Linked DNA regions of Homo sapiens: region 2 is linked to region 1. The links are contacts of gene promoters, found by promoter capture Hi-C in blood cells and fetal thymus (Javierre and others, 2016). All regions are on one chromosome and are shown on one strand. Each heading gives the region's core, a stretch centred on a gene start or on the middle of the fragment in contact. The rest is flanking DNA. Distances are from core to core; before and after follow the strand shown. Region 1 holds the start of LMX1A (LIM homeobox transcription factor 1 alpha). Region 2 overlaps LRRC52-AS1 (LRRC52 antisense RNA 1).

What was found. The method cuts DNA at HindIII sites, captures the fragments that hold promoters and counts their contacts. A CHiCAGO score of 5 or more calls a contact.
Region 2: a contact is called between a fragment that was not itself captured here and the fragment with the promoter of LMX1A in region 1, in 1 of 17 cell types (total B cells). The highest score is 5.5, in total B cells.

Annotation. Positions count from the first base shown.
Region 1 is chr1:165,353,341-165,360,558 of GRCh38, forward strand. LMX1A (LIM homeobox transcription factor 1 alpha) reads right to left here and starts at 3,375. Exons shown (of 9, transcript NM_177398.4): 1 at 3,015-3,375; 2 at 2,144-2,241. The coding sequence starts at 2,219. The HindIII fragment of the contact is 4,667 bases long and covers 3,075-7,218 here.
Region 2 is chr1:165,564,944-165,572,161 of GRCh38, forward strand. All of the region lies in intron 3 of LRRC52-AS1 (LRRC52 antisense RNA 1), which reads right to left. Among named protein-coding and RNA genes, the nearest start is that of LRRC52-AS1, 14 kb to the right of the region's middle. The HindIII fragment of the contact is 222 bases long and covers 3,609-3,830 here.

The DNA of each region.
Region 1 (7,218 bases), core at 2,125-4,624:
ATCCCTTCACATCCACGGATTCCCCCAGCGCCCCCCACCCCAGGGAACTCCTGCTAATCAACCAAGCTGAAACCTGGAAAAAATCAAGCCAAGTGGCGTTTCTAATAAACGGAGACTATGTGAGAAGGTTTAATTCCAAGCGGGGGAGGGTATAGAAATCAATAATTGGCCTTTAATTAACAAACATACCCAGGTATGCTCGCAAACGTCTGCACATCCTGTAAGATTAAATTACATACAAATTTGTGCTCTCAGGTTTATTACGTCGTAATTAATTATTAAATCACTATGCCTGTCTCTACTGACTGTTTTAAAAACTGAGAATGCATAAGAACAATTTGGATTTTTCTTTGTTAAAACGCAGAGTTCTGTTCTATTTTTTGAGGGGGAACAAAATTTTCTCTTTTCTTCCTAAAAAGTCCTGGGGGTACAGAAAAATACCGTCTCACTCCGAAGCAAACCTAATATTATTCAAACCGATGAACCCCAAACTGCTGCGTCTTGACTGGCATGCATATTGCACATGGGTTTTTGATAACTAAGAAGCGTCAAAACAGAGGGAGGGAAAAAAATAGCGGAAGAAGCAAGCCGCTGAGTGTCCCGGCCGGGATTCCCGATGCCAGGCGCGTTCGGCAGCAGTGCTTGAGGGCGAAACGGGCCTCAAAGTGACTCAGCGGAGGCAGGAAATCCACTCTTTGCTACCCCTTGGACTTTGTGTTTTGTTCCTTTAGTTTGTGGGGGGCGGAGAGGTGGTTCAGGTGGCGACGCTTGGCCACCTATATTGGCACTTTTCACAGCTATTTAAAGAAGGCCTTGTCCCCCAGCAACAACACTCTTGCCCTTGTCCCCCCAGTACCAACACTCTTGCGCTCCCCATTTCCCGGCTGCACTCTTCTCATTCTCCCCTTCCGAGAGGCCCGGCCACCGGCTCGGGAGCTGGGCCGGTCGCTTTGGGAGCGGATGAGGAAGGTTAGGAGAAGCAGCGAGATAGATCCCAATTTTACAATTCTATTTTCTTTCGGTAGGGTCTCGGCGTCCTGGGCCACGTTGAGAGCGAACGTGGGCCGAGCGGAGGACACAGAGTAAAAAGCGACGCCCGCTGTATACATAAATCCGCACCCGCTGCCCGCCCGGGTACTGCCTGCTCTGGCTTCCGCTCTCTTCCGAGGCTGGGCAAGTCCAAAAGTTCCCGAAAGGGGGGTTCAAAGAGGGGCGCTCAGTGCACGTGATTTCGTTTCATCTAGGGTGTTGGGGGTGGGGAGATTCCTCACTGGATTTGGTTTCTCCAGCAGAACTGTCTCATCCTCCACATTCATGCCGCTCTAGCGGTTCCGAGTGAAAGAGGCAAGAGGTTTAAAGGACAGAAGGAAAACTCCCTCCTGCTAAAAATAAATAAATAAAATAAAATAAAATAAAATACGGGCTTCCCAAACTTGAAAAGCTCCAAGGGCAGAGTGGGTGGGGGAGCCGTAACCAGAATCTCTGGCTTCAGCTCTGCAAGACCCGTGTGTGGACACTCTTCCGGGGTCCTTGACTCGCTGCTCCTCCTCTGTCGCTGCAAAGGAGTTGTGAGGGGGGACCCACAGGACCCGACATCCAGCTCCAGTTAATTAACGCGGAGCCTAGGGCCCAGCCGCGCGGTCTAATCCCCGCGCTGCGTTGCCTACTGGCCCAGAAAAGTCTCTCTCGGCCTTGCCCATGGCTGAAATTGGGGCTGGAGTTGGTGGGGGAGAGAAGCCTCCTCGAACTTGGGCGCTCCAGGCCTCGGGTCTCGGATGCTATTGCCTCTAGGCCGCGAGAAGAGGGCGGCATTTATGAGACGTCGATCAGCTCCGAGATTAAAAATCCAGCCCTGGGTATTTTTAATCACTTGCCACTCAGACGCCTACGAACAAGCTCGCCCGCCCCTCGCGGCTTTGGGGAATTCGGTGCCCAGTGCGTGAGGCCTGGGGCGGCTTGTTGGATTTATTTGGGTAGGGACGACCCACAAGCACTGACGGACAGATAGTGATGGGGCTCAATTTAGTGTATGAAGAGGGGCGCTAGCTTCCCTATCGCGGACCAGGTCCCAGAGAGCGGGGCTCCAGAGCTCAGCGCCAAGCGGAAAGAGAGTGCGCCCAGGACGCACGGCCTGAACACTCACCCAGCAGCGAGGAGAAGGAGGCCGAGGTGTCGATCGCGCTTTGGAAGTTCTCCTCCATCTTTAGGCCGTCCAGCATGTTCGGGCCGGGCCGGGAGGACCTGTAGAGGAGAAGAAACGATGCGTCTGACGTCCGTGCCCGCTGGGACTCGGCGCCAGCAGCCACCGCACTCCTGGGAAAGAACTGAGGGAGTGTCCAGGGCGACCAGAATCAGCCAGGAGGATAGGGTCCAGCCAAGAGAATGTAGGGTGGGAGGAGAGATCAGTCACAGCGAACTGCTCTGGCTGATCTGATTTCACTTGAAGTCAACACGTTATGTACTTAGGCCTCCGCCCCCCAACTGCGTTTCTCCTTCTCCTGCCCCCCTCACCCCCACCTACATCCCTTGCCCCAGGTTTTCCATCCCGAATCCGACTCCGCCCCAACCTATACGAAGGTGGGCCCTCGGGACGTCTCTGCAGGAACGCAGCTACTGGGGTATATTGGGTATATAAAGAGTGGGTACCCTCCCTCGAGCGACCGGGTCCAGGCACGCGGGACGATGGGGTTTGCAATCCCGCGTCCCAGCCGCCCCGTTGCGGCCCTCACCTGCCCCAGGTCGAGAAGGGGCACTGTAAGGGACCCGGAGGGCGTCCCGCCCGCTTCTGGACTCCTGGCGCTGCGCTCTGTTGGGGTGCGCGCAGGAGCCGGTGTGCGGGGCGCGCGGGGAGGTCCTCCCGCCAGTCGGCCAGTGCCGGGAATGTCTGCAGAAGCAAAAGAGTCGCCTCGGGGAGGAGCCCCGGCTGGCCCGGCTCACTCTTGGATGCATTTCAAGTCAACTTTCAGAAACACGCCCGCCCGAGCCACAGCCTAGGCACGGGCAGCCTTACTTACCTGGTAGGCGAGCTCTCTCCCAGTGACTGGAGCAGAGAGAAGTTGCGGAGCGCTGCTGGAAGCTTCTGCCCGGGAAGGCGTCGCCCCCGAGACTGCAGCCGGAGGAGCCGCCCTCGGCTTCGGAGCGCCGGGGAGGGAGCCGGAGCGAACGCCGGCCGCTGGCTCTGCTCCTCGGCGCGCCCAGGCTGGGCCGGGACGTGGTCGCGAGCTGCCGGCCTTCCCGGGACGTCCTACCAGCCCGCGTCGCTCCTCAGCGGGAGGAGAGGGCCAGTTGCTTCTCCAAGGCTAGGAGGGAAGGCAGAGGCCCAGGGTCCTGGGTGCGAGTCGGCCCTGCTTCGCCGGGGCGGATCCTGCAGCTTCTGACAGGGGCCGCGGCGCTGCGTGCGCGGCGGCGGAGAGGGGGTGGGGTGCGCTGGGCGGGGGGCTGGCAGCGCGTCCCGTGGCGGGGCCGTGGTGCTCCCTTTCCCAGCCTGGCTGCGCGGCCACCACACGGCCGCTGCCCTCTGAGCCCCTCCGCCTCTGGGAGCTCTCGGACACGCTAAGTTTCCTCCCCTCCACGTGTAACTGTTACCTCGGGGCGCTCTGGCCCGGTCGCCCCCCAGTGCCCCTCACCCCGACTGGGCCTTTGCGGAGATGTCGGCGCCTCCTGGACAGCGGTGCCGCCACGAGGATTCCCCCGCCGCTCTCCAACTGCTGCTATAAAAGCGCTGCAATCCTTACCCGGGCCCCGGGAAGCGCTGAGAAGCTGTTTAGCGCCAGTAGATGTGGGCCCAGCAGCTCCTAGCTCCTCAAACCCCTCATCACCCGAGGGCTCATGCCAGTTTCCAACTTCCTTTAAGGTCGAACCATATTCACTCATGGGGCGTACAGAGGCCATGGGACTCACGGCCTAAGAATCATGCTCTTGGGAGACACTAGGTGGGATCTGCCCCCCAGATGATGAACTTGCAATGACACTCAACAGGAAATCAGGTAAAGGGACATTGTTAGGGGAACAAAGTATCTGGGGAGAAATGTGAATTATCTGCACCTCCTAACTTTAATTTACAATAACAGACCTTTAGCCCCCTCCAGAGCAGGAATAAGGCCTTATCCGTCTGTATAGCCCAGGAGGTAAGCATGTTGTGTGACCCCAAGTGGATGCTCAATAAATAAATTACAATGCTGGCTAGCGTTTATCGTTTATTTTGTGCCAGCTTTGTTACACAGTCACCTCATTTAATCTTTACAACAACCCCCATGAAGTGGAGACAATTGTTGTCCCAATCTTACAGTTGAGGGAAATGGAAGGGAATTCATGGAATCCGAGTCCCATCATCTGAATACCATGGGAAGGTTCAGTTCAATTCAGTGTGATTCTCTGGGGCACCTTCAGTTCCTAAACTGAACTGAACTGAGATGAAATTGGCAGGCCGTTTGACATGGTGAACTCAGGCAGAGGAGATGCCACATAGCCAGGGTTTTTCTATTACCTCCTCCAAAGACAGAGCCACTTCTTTATTCCTAAAGAAAAAGTGCTGGCAGCAACTTGCTCTAATGTGCTTAGGAGCAGCGACCCCACTAAGCACTAAAAAAGCCATTCTAAGTGCTTTCTGCCAGCAGGCACAAGCCAAACACTGAATATGACTCCAGAAGAAAGAGGGGAAATGGCAAAGAGGCTAATACGTTATATTCGAATGCTGCTTTACAGGCATTTTCACATACATGATTTTGCTTGATCTTTACAGCAAACCTGTGAGGTAGGCAGAACAGTTTTATCTTTTGTTTCAGATGAATCTTTGGAGCTTAGCACGGCTGGGAGATTTCCCTGATGTTGCCCAGATGGCTAGTGGCATGTCTCCTAACACCTGACCTCTGTCCTTTCTGTCACCCCAGGTAGAGCAGGGTGTAAAAAAATACAAACTACAAGTATTATTAGGATAATATGTGAAATAGAAGTTAAGCAAGAAAAAAATGGAATAGGGCAGATACAACCATAAGGAATGTTTTTATGTAAATACCCGGCAGAATTTTGGTTTCACTAAAGGTCTTATATGAAATATATGAAATACATTTTAACTAGTGGTAAGACTATTCCTTTTAGTGAATATCCTGAAAGTAGATAGATTGTCATTTGACCTGAAACTCAAATCTTTCAAACAATTCTTACATCCACCCACAAGGCCGCTTGATTAGTGTAGATCACACAGGTTTTTGGTGAGAATGTCTCCCCAGCCATTGGGCACTTCAGGATGGGGACGGTGCCTCAAAAATCACATCATAAGTCATATCACTTTTAGTGCAGACCTAGACACATACAATTGATGAACAAATGCCTTTTACTTGGTTGAGGAATGAATAGAACTCTCACTACAGTCAGAAGGCACTGCAGTGAAGGGTCAGGAATCAAAGGACCTCCGTTCCATTCCCAGCTTTGCCACTGAATTGGTCTGGGCCATCAGTTCACCTCTTTAGATGTCAATACCTCTCTGGAATGAAGGGTCTACATTATGTGGTTGGTCAGGCCCTCACAGTCTAAAGTCTGTGAAACCAGTCCAGTGGGGTAGGCAGTGGGGTAGCTTTGGCCAGTGGGGTAGGCAGTAGAACCAACAGATCCATATGAGGTGCTGAGCAGTGGTTGCCTAGGTATAGTCTTGGCTGATGTGTTTAAGTGATGTGTCTAAACCAATAAAGATAAAACTTATTTATTCGGAGTTTTCTCTTTTGTGATTTATTTGCCCTCTTTCAATGAAGTAGGAGTCATGAATCCCATTCCTACCCAAGGATTGTTTCAGTTTGGCCTTATCCAACTCAGTGACATGGATGGGTGAGACGATCACAGGTGGATCATTCTGACCCCTCTATGAAAGATCCTCCTAACCATGCCTCGTGTTTTTCCTTGTGATTTAAACTCAAACACTTTTATTTTACCTTTTAAATGAAAGAAGATGCCACAGAGCCACTGCCCAGAAGCCATTTATGAAGAATCAGCCATCTTCTCCCTTTTATCAAAAAGAAGTACTCTGAGAATACATGGGAATGAGGTGAATAGGCTTCAGAGGGGACTCAAAAGATTACACGTTTAGAGTTGGAAATGATTTTAAAGCTCATGTGGTCCAACCATTTAGTTTGTAATGGATCAAAATTCATTTCCCTAAAGTTTCCACCCTCTGTTCCATTGATTCCTCGGGGCTAGCCATTCAGGAAGTCAAATCCTGCCTCTAAAACTTTTAGATGAAGGCAGAGCTGGCCTCACTCTCCTGCCCAGTCTTCGAATCTGATCCAGTTTTCCTGTCTCTTATAAATTATGGCACCCAGGCCTGCTGTGAGTTTCCAGTGATAGTGTATTCAGGGTGTTTCTCAAGCAATATAACACCCATTAATGTTCCTGATTTTGTATGAGCATTTTCTTTTTTTTTTTTTTTTTTTTTTTTTTTTTGAGATGGAGTCTCTCTGTGCCGCCCAGGCTGAAGTGCAGTGGTGCGATCTCGGCTCACTGCAAGCTCCGCCTCCCGGGTTCAAGCCATTCTCCTGCCTCAGCCTCCCGAGGCATCCACCACCACGCCCAGCTAATTTTTTTGTCTTTTTAGTAGAGATGGGTTTTCACCGTGTTAGCCAGGATGGTCTAGATCTCCTGACCTCTTGATCCACCCGCCTCAGCCTCCCAAAGTGCTGGGATTACAGGTGTAAGCTACCACGCCCGGCCTTGTGTGCATTTCAATGGCTGCTGTTGACTCACACTTATGTGTCATTAATAAAACCTCCTCAGTCCTTTTCCACATGGTCTGCTGGTAGGGCCCATCTCTGCCATATCGCGTTTGTACAATTGATGTTTGAATCCAAGTGTGAAATTTATCCCTGCTAAGAGACAGGTAGCTGTTGTATCAGAAATCTTGCAACTTCAAGCAGATCCCAAGAGATCCAGGAACTATGTCTTAAGCCTAGTGCCTTGTTTTGAGAGAGAAATATGTGGCCCTTGCCAAGCTGGTCTGGAAGCGCCATCACTGGAGGAAGACAGGCCAGGACCAATCAATGGGTGTATCTGTGGGTCCCAGGGGTAGCAAGACCTTGTAACTTGGGGATACTTCTCCAAGTAGAAGGTTTCCCTGATCCTGTTCCAATTCTGTCATCTGTCTTCAGTCCAATAGCGATTTGTAGAAGATGGGGGTGGGACATGCCAAATAGCTGTGGAGTTACCCCTTCTATGGCAGAAAACAGAGAAGCA
Region 2 (7,218 bases), core at 2,470-4,969, 210 kb after region 1:
CCCCAACCAGACCCGTTTTTACATCTGCACTTCCACTGTGAATTGCATGTGACTCTAATCACCACTTGCCCTCCAGTTTGTTTGGTGCAATGCTTAAGAGCATGGGTCCAGACTCAGGAGCTGGATCTCTATCCCCAGTTCTGCACTTAGCACTGTGTGAACTTGGGCTTCCTACTTATAATGACCTTGAGAGCAGAGACCATTTGCCTTCAGTGTTCTCTATTGACACAGCATATAGAGTGATAACTTCCACAAAATAAGTGTTTATTACTGCATTCTATTTAAATCCCAACCCACCAATCATTCCTACTTTGTTATCCTGAACTAAGAGTGACCATGGGCAAGTTATTTAACTTTTGTGTGTCTCAGTTTCTTCATCTGTAAGTGGCAATCACTGCAGTGCTTATATAGGGATATTTTGAGAATACAATGAATATCAATTATAATAAGAATTTATTTTAATACACTTTTTATTATGGAATAACTTTGGACTAAGCTACAGAGGTAGCACAGAGTTCCCACATACCTCTCACCCAGTTCCCCCTAACGTTATCTCACATTACAGTGGTACATTTATCAAAGCTGAAAAATTTATATTGGAACACTATTATTAACTAAACTCCACACTTTATTGGTATTTCATTAGTTTTTTTTTCCACAATGCCCTTTTCTCTGTTCCAAGACCCAATCTAGGATACCACGTTTGCATTTAGGATATTTTTAATATAATAACACGTCTAACTTTATTGGGCACTTCTATATGCTAGGCATTGTTCTAAGTGCATATACATACACACAAACACATACACATACACACACAAACACACACATCTCAACTAATTGAATCATCACAACAATCCTATGAGGTAAGCATTATTCCCATCAGATCCTGAAACTGAGGTTTAAGAGGGTAAGTAACTTGCTAAACATTACACATCTAGTACAACCAGAAGTGAAACCAGCTGTGGCTGACTATAGACTGTTTCCTCCAAATCACTAATCAATATTGTCTCTCAGGAATTTAAACTACCAAGAAAGTCTTGGCAAAAGAAATGTGAATTGCAGCTTTTCATGATAGCTTCTCCCCTAAGATTTCGCCTGGATCTTCCAACAATAAGTAATTCCACAAAAATGGGCTGAGCACCTACTCTGACAAGGCCTGGGAAGATCACAGTGAACGTGGCAAAGTGGTGAAAGCTCAAGGAGCTTCCAGTTCAGTTTGGTGGAGAAACAAGAAAAAAGTCCATTTCAAGACAGAGTGGTAAGTGAAGGGCCGGCACAGTATTCTAAGGGGACCCAAAGGAAGGGCGCCTCAACCAGGAGGCAGTAGGGCATCCTGGAGGGCTTCTCAGAGGAAGAGGCATCTACACTGAGGCTTGAAAGTTGAGTTGAGATTCACCAGACAAAGTGGTAAAGTGGATGTGGGTGACAAAAAGACATCCTAAGCAACAAGAACTGCATCTACAAAGGCCTGGAAGTGAGGAAGAGCCTGGCATGCCATTATAACTGGAATATAGAGTATAAGGGAAGGAAGAAAAGAGAAATAATGTTAGAGAGAGAAGCAAGGCCAGATCCTGAAGGGCCTTTTATATCCCTGTGTTGGTCAGGATTATGATAGGCTATGCTACAATAACAAATTAACCCCAAAGTTTCATTGGCTTACCACAACAAAGACTAATTTGTCACTCATGTAGAGTCCCATGTGGGTAGGGAGCCCTCCCACCCTGTAGCTCCAGCACCTAGAACATGGCCTCAGAGGTCCACTCCAGAAGAGAAAAGAGAGGCCATAGGCACACAGCTTGTAACTACTGGGCCTGGAAATGACACGTGTCACTTCAACTCACATTTCACATGGTCCCAACCTTACTGAAGAGAAACATAGTCTGTGTGCCAAAAATGCTGTGGAAAACAAGGAATTGTCTCTGCCCCACCAGGATAAGATATGGGACTTGCTCATGAAGTACACTCAAGAGTTGTAAGCATGAGAACCACCAAGTCTAGTTAATTTGTATTTGAGAAAACTCACTCTGGCTGTAAGGTGAAGAAGAGACCAGAGGGAGGCATGACGGAAAATGGGGAGACTAGCAGTATTGCAGTATTCTAGCAGGGGGTGCGGGTGATAGACCAAAGGCAGTGGCTGTGGGAACAAACAGAACTGGATGAATTTGTGAGGTTATGTCAGAGGTAGAGTTGGCAGAATTTCATGAGTAACTGGATTTGGGATGTTGGGGAAGAATTAATGGAGGGAGGATTCAGAGAAAGAAGAAGGAGTTAAGGAGAGGGCCCAAATTTCTGATTTGGACAGCCAGGTGGCTGGCAGCATCAGTCACCAAGGAGGAGAAAACCACCACATGGCATACTGGATGCAAAAATGTGCTGGGCAATAAAATATGGGGAAGGGATATGGGGAGGATGGAGGGTTATATCCTCATTGTCTCAGTGGAAAGTCGGTAGCTGGTGCCTAACACTGAAAAATCAAATGGGAGCAATAAAGGCATAATTTTTAGACATATCAAAAGAAATCAGCAAAAAGAGTTCCAGGTGCTTGCCTCTGGAGAGGAAAAAACACTGGGACAAAAAATGGAAGACTGCTATTTAATTTAAAAAAATTTGTACAACTGCTACTCTTTAAACTATGTGCATACATATCTGATAAAAATGAATTTTTTTAAAGGAAAGACCAGCTGGTCTAGGATGTTGCTCCTTTCCTCTGAGAGGTGTCTTTTGTCTTTAACCACCTTAAATGGTGAGATGTCCATTGTGATTACAAAGGGTAGGGTACTAGTCAGTGGGACACTCATACCACCTGCCACATTTCCCCATTTGCAATAGGCCCCTGCACTTAATTCTCAGAAAAATCAAGGAGGGCTTTTTAGGGGAGATTATGCTTGACCTACATCTTGAAAAATCATAGAATTTCACACAGGAAGGAGCATTTCAAATGGATGGTAAGGGTTAGAGCATGGAGGTATGGCAAACAGATGTGTTAGGGGAAAAGCTGTAGTTGTGTTTGGAGCCTGGAAGACAAATGAAGGTGACTAGAAAATGGAGATGGAAGACCAATCAGGGAGCTCACGAAAGTGGTAAATGTTTCTCCAAAGAAGGCTCATGGACCCACATCAAGATCCTGACGATCTCTCAGTCCTTCAGATGCTCAGGAAGGATAGGCAGTATCCCGCATTTTAGTAAGTTCGCTAGGTGAATTTCATACACACCAAAATTTGAGAAACACAAGTCAAGCAAGAGGATAAAGTCCTGAAATAAGGTCATGGCAGTGCGAATGGGAGGAGGAAATGGTTATCAGACCCAGGGTCTCTTGGGTCCAGAGCTAGCCTTGGCCAACAAGTCAGGTAAAGTGGCTTTTCTGCCTGCAAAGAAATGCAGATCGTGGGGAAGCAGCAATGCCCTGCAGCTCCTGCTTACCTTTGACTTTCATTCCTGCCTCAGTGCAAGTCCTCCCACTAAATATGATATAGGGATTTCGAGTCTCAGCTTTTCCACTCTATATGTACTCTGAAAAAAATCACTTTATTGCTTGAGTCTCAGTTTCCCCAACTGTAAAATGAAGTGGTTAGACTAGATTACCTCAAAGGCCACCTCTAAATCTAAGCTTCTAAAAACAACTCCGGATAATATCCAGAACATACAAGGAGCTCCTACAAATCAAAAAGAAAAGCATGAAACTCCAATAGAAAAAACTGGCTAAGAATATGAACAGGCAATGGATAGGAGATGAAAAAAAAACTAGCAAGCATATGCTGATGCTCATCAGTAATCAGAGAATGCAGATGAAAACAATAGATGTCACTGTGTCTCTATTAGATTTGCAAAGCTTTGAAATCTGGATGTTGCATTTTGGCAAGGATATTGGGCTGCAGGAACCCTCATGCCTTGCTGAAGGGACTCTAAATGGGCACAGCCAGCCTAGAGAGTCATCTGGCACTAATAAATTAAATTCAGTGGGACCTGGGACCCAGCAAATCCACTTGTTCCTGGGTGTTTCTCCACAGAAATGATCATACAAGTCCACAAGGGAACACATATGAAGACATCCATGGCAGTATTATTTGTAATGGCAGGGGTGTGGAAGACTGACTAGGGAAAATTTGTGGATTACTATAGGACAGTTACAAATAAATAACTAGGGGCAGGCTGTGGTGGCTCACGCCTGTAATCCCAGCACTTTGGGAGGCCGAGGTGGGAGGATCATGAGGTCAGGAAATCAAGACCAACCTGGCTAACATGGTGAAACCCCATCTCTACTAAAAAATACAAAAAAAAAAATCGCCAGGCATGGTGGCGGGCACCTGTAGTCCCAGTTACTTGGGAGGCTGAGGCAGGAGAATGGCGTGAACCCAGGAGGTGGAGTTTGCAGTGAGCCTAGATCATGCCACTGCACTCCAGCCTGAGCGACAGAGTGAGACTCCGTCTCAAAAAAAAAAAAAAAAAGGAAAAAAAAAAGAAAAAAGAAGAGAGAAATAAATAACTAGGTATACATCTAGCAACAAGATGAATACAGCTGAGTAGGGAAAAAAGAATAAATATAATGAGAACACTCTATAACACTCAGCATCCTGAAATGGCTCCCTATTTCCTTCACAATAAGAGCCAAAGTCTTCACAATCTCCCACCAGGCCCTAAATGATGTGCCTCCACCCCTACCCCCACCACCTCTTTACCTCACTGATGTCATCTTCTATCACTACCCCATTGCTTACCCTGCCCAGCCTCACTGGCCACCCTGCTGCCATGAAATGATATGGGGCATTGATGCTGCCACAGAGCCTTTGCACTGGCTCTTCCCTCTTCCTGGGCTTGTAACCCTTCAAAGTACCCTACACATGCATTCACACTCCTTTTCCCTTACCCTGCTCAATTTTTAACTTAGACAATAATCAATTATAATAACTAAATTGTATCCTAGTCTAAAAGGCAATAAGTACTGTCTTCTCATCCCCACCTTCACCTCTAGAATATAAGCTCCCTGAGAATGGGCATTTTTGCTTATTTTGTTCACTGATGTCTCCCAAGAATGAGAGCAAAACCTGTCCCAAAAAAGGCACTATTTTAAATACACTTTTAAACACATTATATGAATGCACATGCAGAAAATGATGAGTGGGAATTGGCGATAAAGGGGATTAAACAAAATAAGAGAGGAGCCTAGTCTGGATCAAGGATGATAACACACCATTAAGGGAGGATTCTGAGTAATTCAACCTTCTATACCTGAGGTTAACAAAAGGGGAGGAGGGAAGCAGTGTCTGGTCACCTCCCCTGAGCCCATCTGTTGAAGTTTCTCCTTTTGCCGGGTCTTTGCCAAGCCCATCTACACAGCAGCTGTTTCTGAGATTGCAAGGTCGTTACTGGGCTGAGGATACCTCACAAGCAACCCTTCCATGTACAACCCCACCCACCTCCCTACATTTCCTCAACACCGGCCCACCTGAGGAAGAAAGGACTGGGCTCCACATAGAACACTACCTAATAATTTTAGAATGATTTCTAACTCACAAATCACTCCACAACTTTGAAAGATACTACTGTCCTCATTGTATGGGTTAAAAAAACTAATGCTTAGAAAGATTCACAGTTGTCCTGTTTCACTGGCTAGTCCCCAGCACAACTGAGATGTTCAGCAACCCAGGTCTTCCTGACACCACGTTTCACGTTTTCTCTACCAACTTACTCTCCCACTAGGTACAGATAAAAAGACTTCCATGTTAGGGAAATTAGCAAAATACATTTTTCCAAATCTTATTTTGCATGACCCTGTTCTCAGCTCTCCTGTTTCTAAGTAACTGCTCTCCATCTCTAGGCTAGGATGCAAATTCAAAACCTGTGGATTTGACACAGTCTGTCTAAAAGCTAATGTTAGAAAATAAGGCCAAACAAATCATCTATTACTATTAAGACTTTAAAAGGATTATCCGCTCTTTGCAAGGAGCCAGATGGTGAAGACTGCACACTGTCAATCAGCTCTGGCAATAATAGTTCTGATACTACTGAGGAGTACAGAGGAACCACTAAGAATGTGGGGAATTCTCAACACAACACTCCGTGTTTGACAAGAATCAGATGATGAAAGGGTTAGGGCTGGTTGATGTTTTAAGCAGGCCGACTATTTAGGCCAAGAGATTAACATTTAAGAACAACAGCCAGGCGCGGTGGCTCACGCCTGTAATCCCAGCACTTTGAGAGGCCGAGGCGGGCGGATCACCTGAGGTCAGGAGTTCGAGACCAGCCCGACCAACATGGTGAAACCCCGTGTCTACTAAAATTACAAAATTAGCCAGGTGTGGTGGCGCATGCCTATAATCCCAGCTACTCGGGAGGCTGAGGCAGAAGAATCACTTGAACACAGGAGGCAGAGATTGCAGTGAGCCGAGATTGCGCCACTGCACTCCAGCCTAGGCAACAAGAGCAAAACTCCATCTCAAAAAAAAAAAAAAGAAAAAAAGAACAACAGACTCAGGTACATAACTTAGAGTTTACTTGCATGCCACTCCTCGCACTCATTTAAGTGACTCTGGGCTCATTCTCATTCAGCAAAATGGATCAGGACTGGCGCATACTCATGGCTTCTAGTTCTTCTTTACCTGCACTTAACTTGGCATGATGCAGTACACATGGTAGGGGCTCCATAAAGCTCTTTGAATTACAGGCTCACTGAAACTCATACTGCAACAACTTACACTGAAGCGCTGAAACCTCTCAAGTCTCCTACTAAGAAAGCTTCTCAGGGATTACCAGTTTCCAGTGAAAATCTCCTTAGGCTGATCTAGCCTTAACTCCTCACCCTGCCCAATAAACAAGTAAAAAGAAATATAATATAATGATAAGTATTATTGACATGGTTAGACATTTCCTAGTGAGTGACATGAGCCTTGAACACATTATAATCTCTGTTATTCTCCTTTTCCCTCAAATTAAAATGGGGATTAAACTCGCCTTGTGGTTCTAAAAGTTAGAGACTCTTCATATAAAGGACTTTAATATCATTCCTAGCACAAATTAGGTGTTCAAAAAAACTGGTGGTTTGGGGGAGAGAATGAGCCACCTTAGCACCCACACACAAGAATGCTCTTTTTCAGATGGACTCATAGCACTCATGTTTCATTCTTGCTTGACACCACCAGCTGCATAATCATAAGCAAACAATTTTATCTCTCTAGCCTTCAATTTCTTTGTTAGTAAAAATAAAGGTTGTGGGCTAGA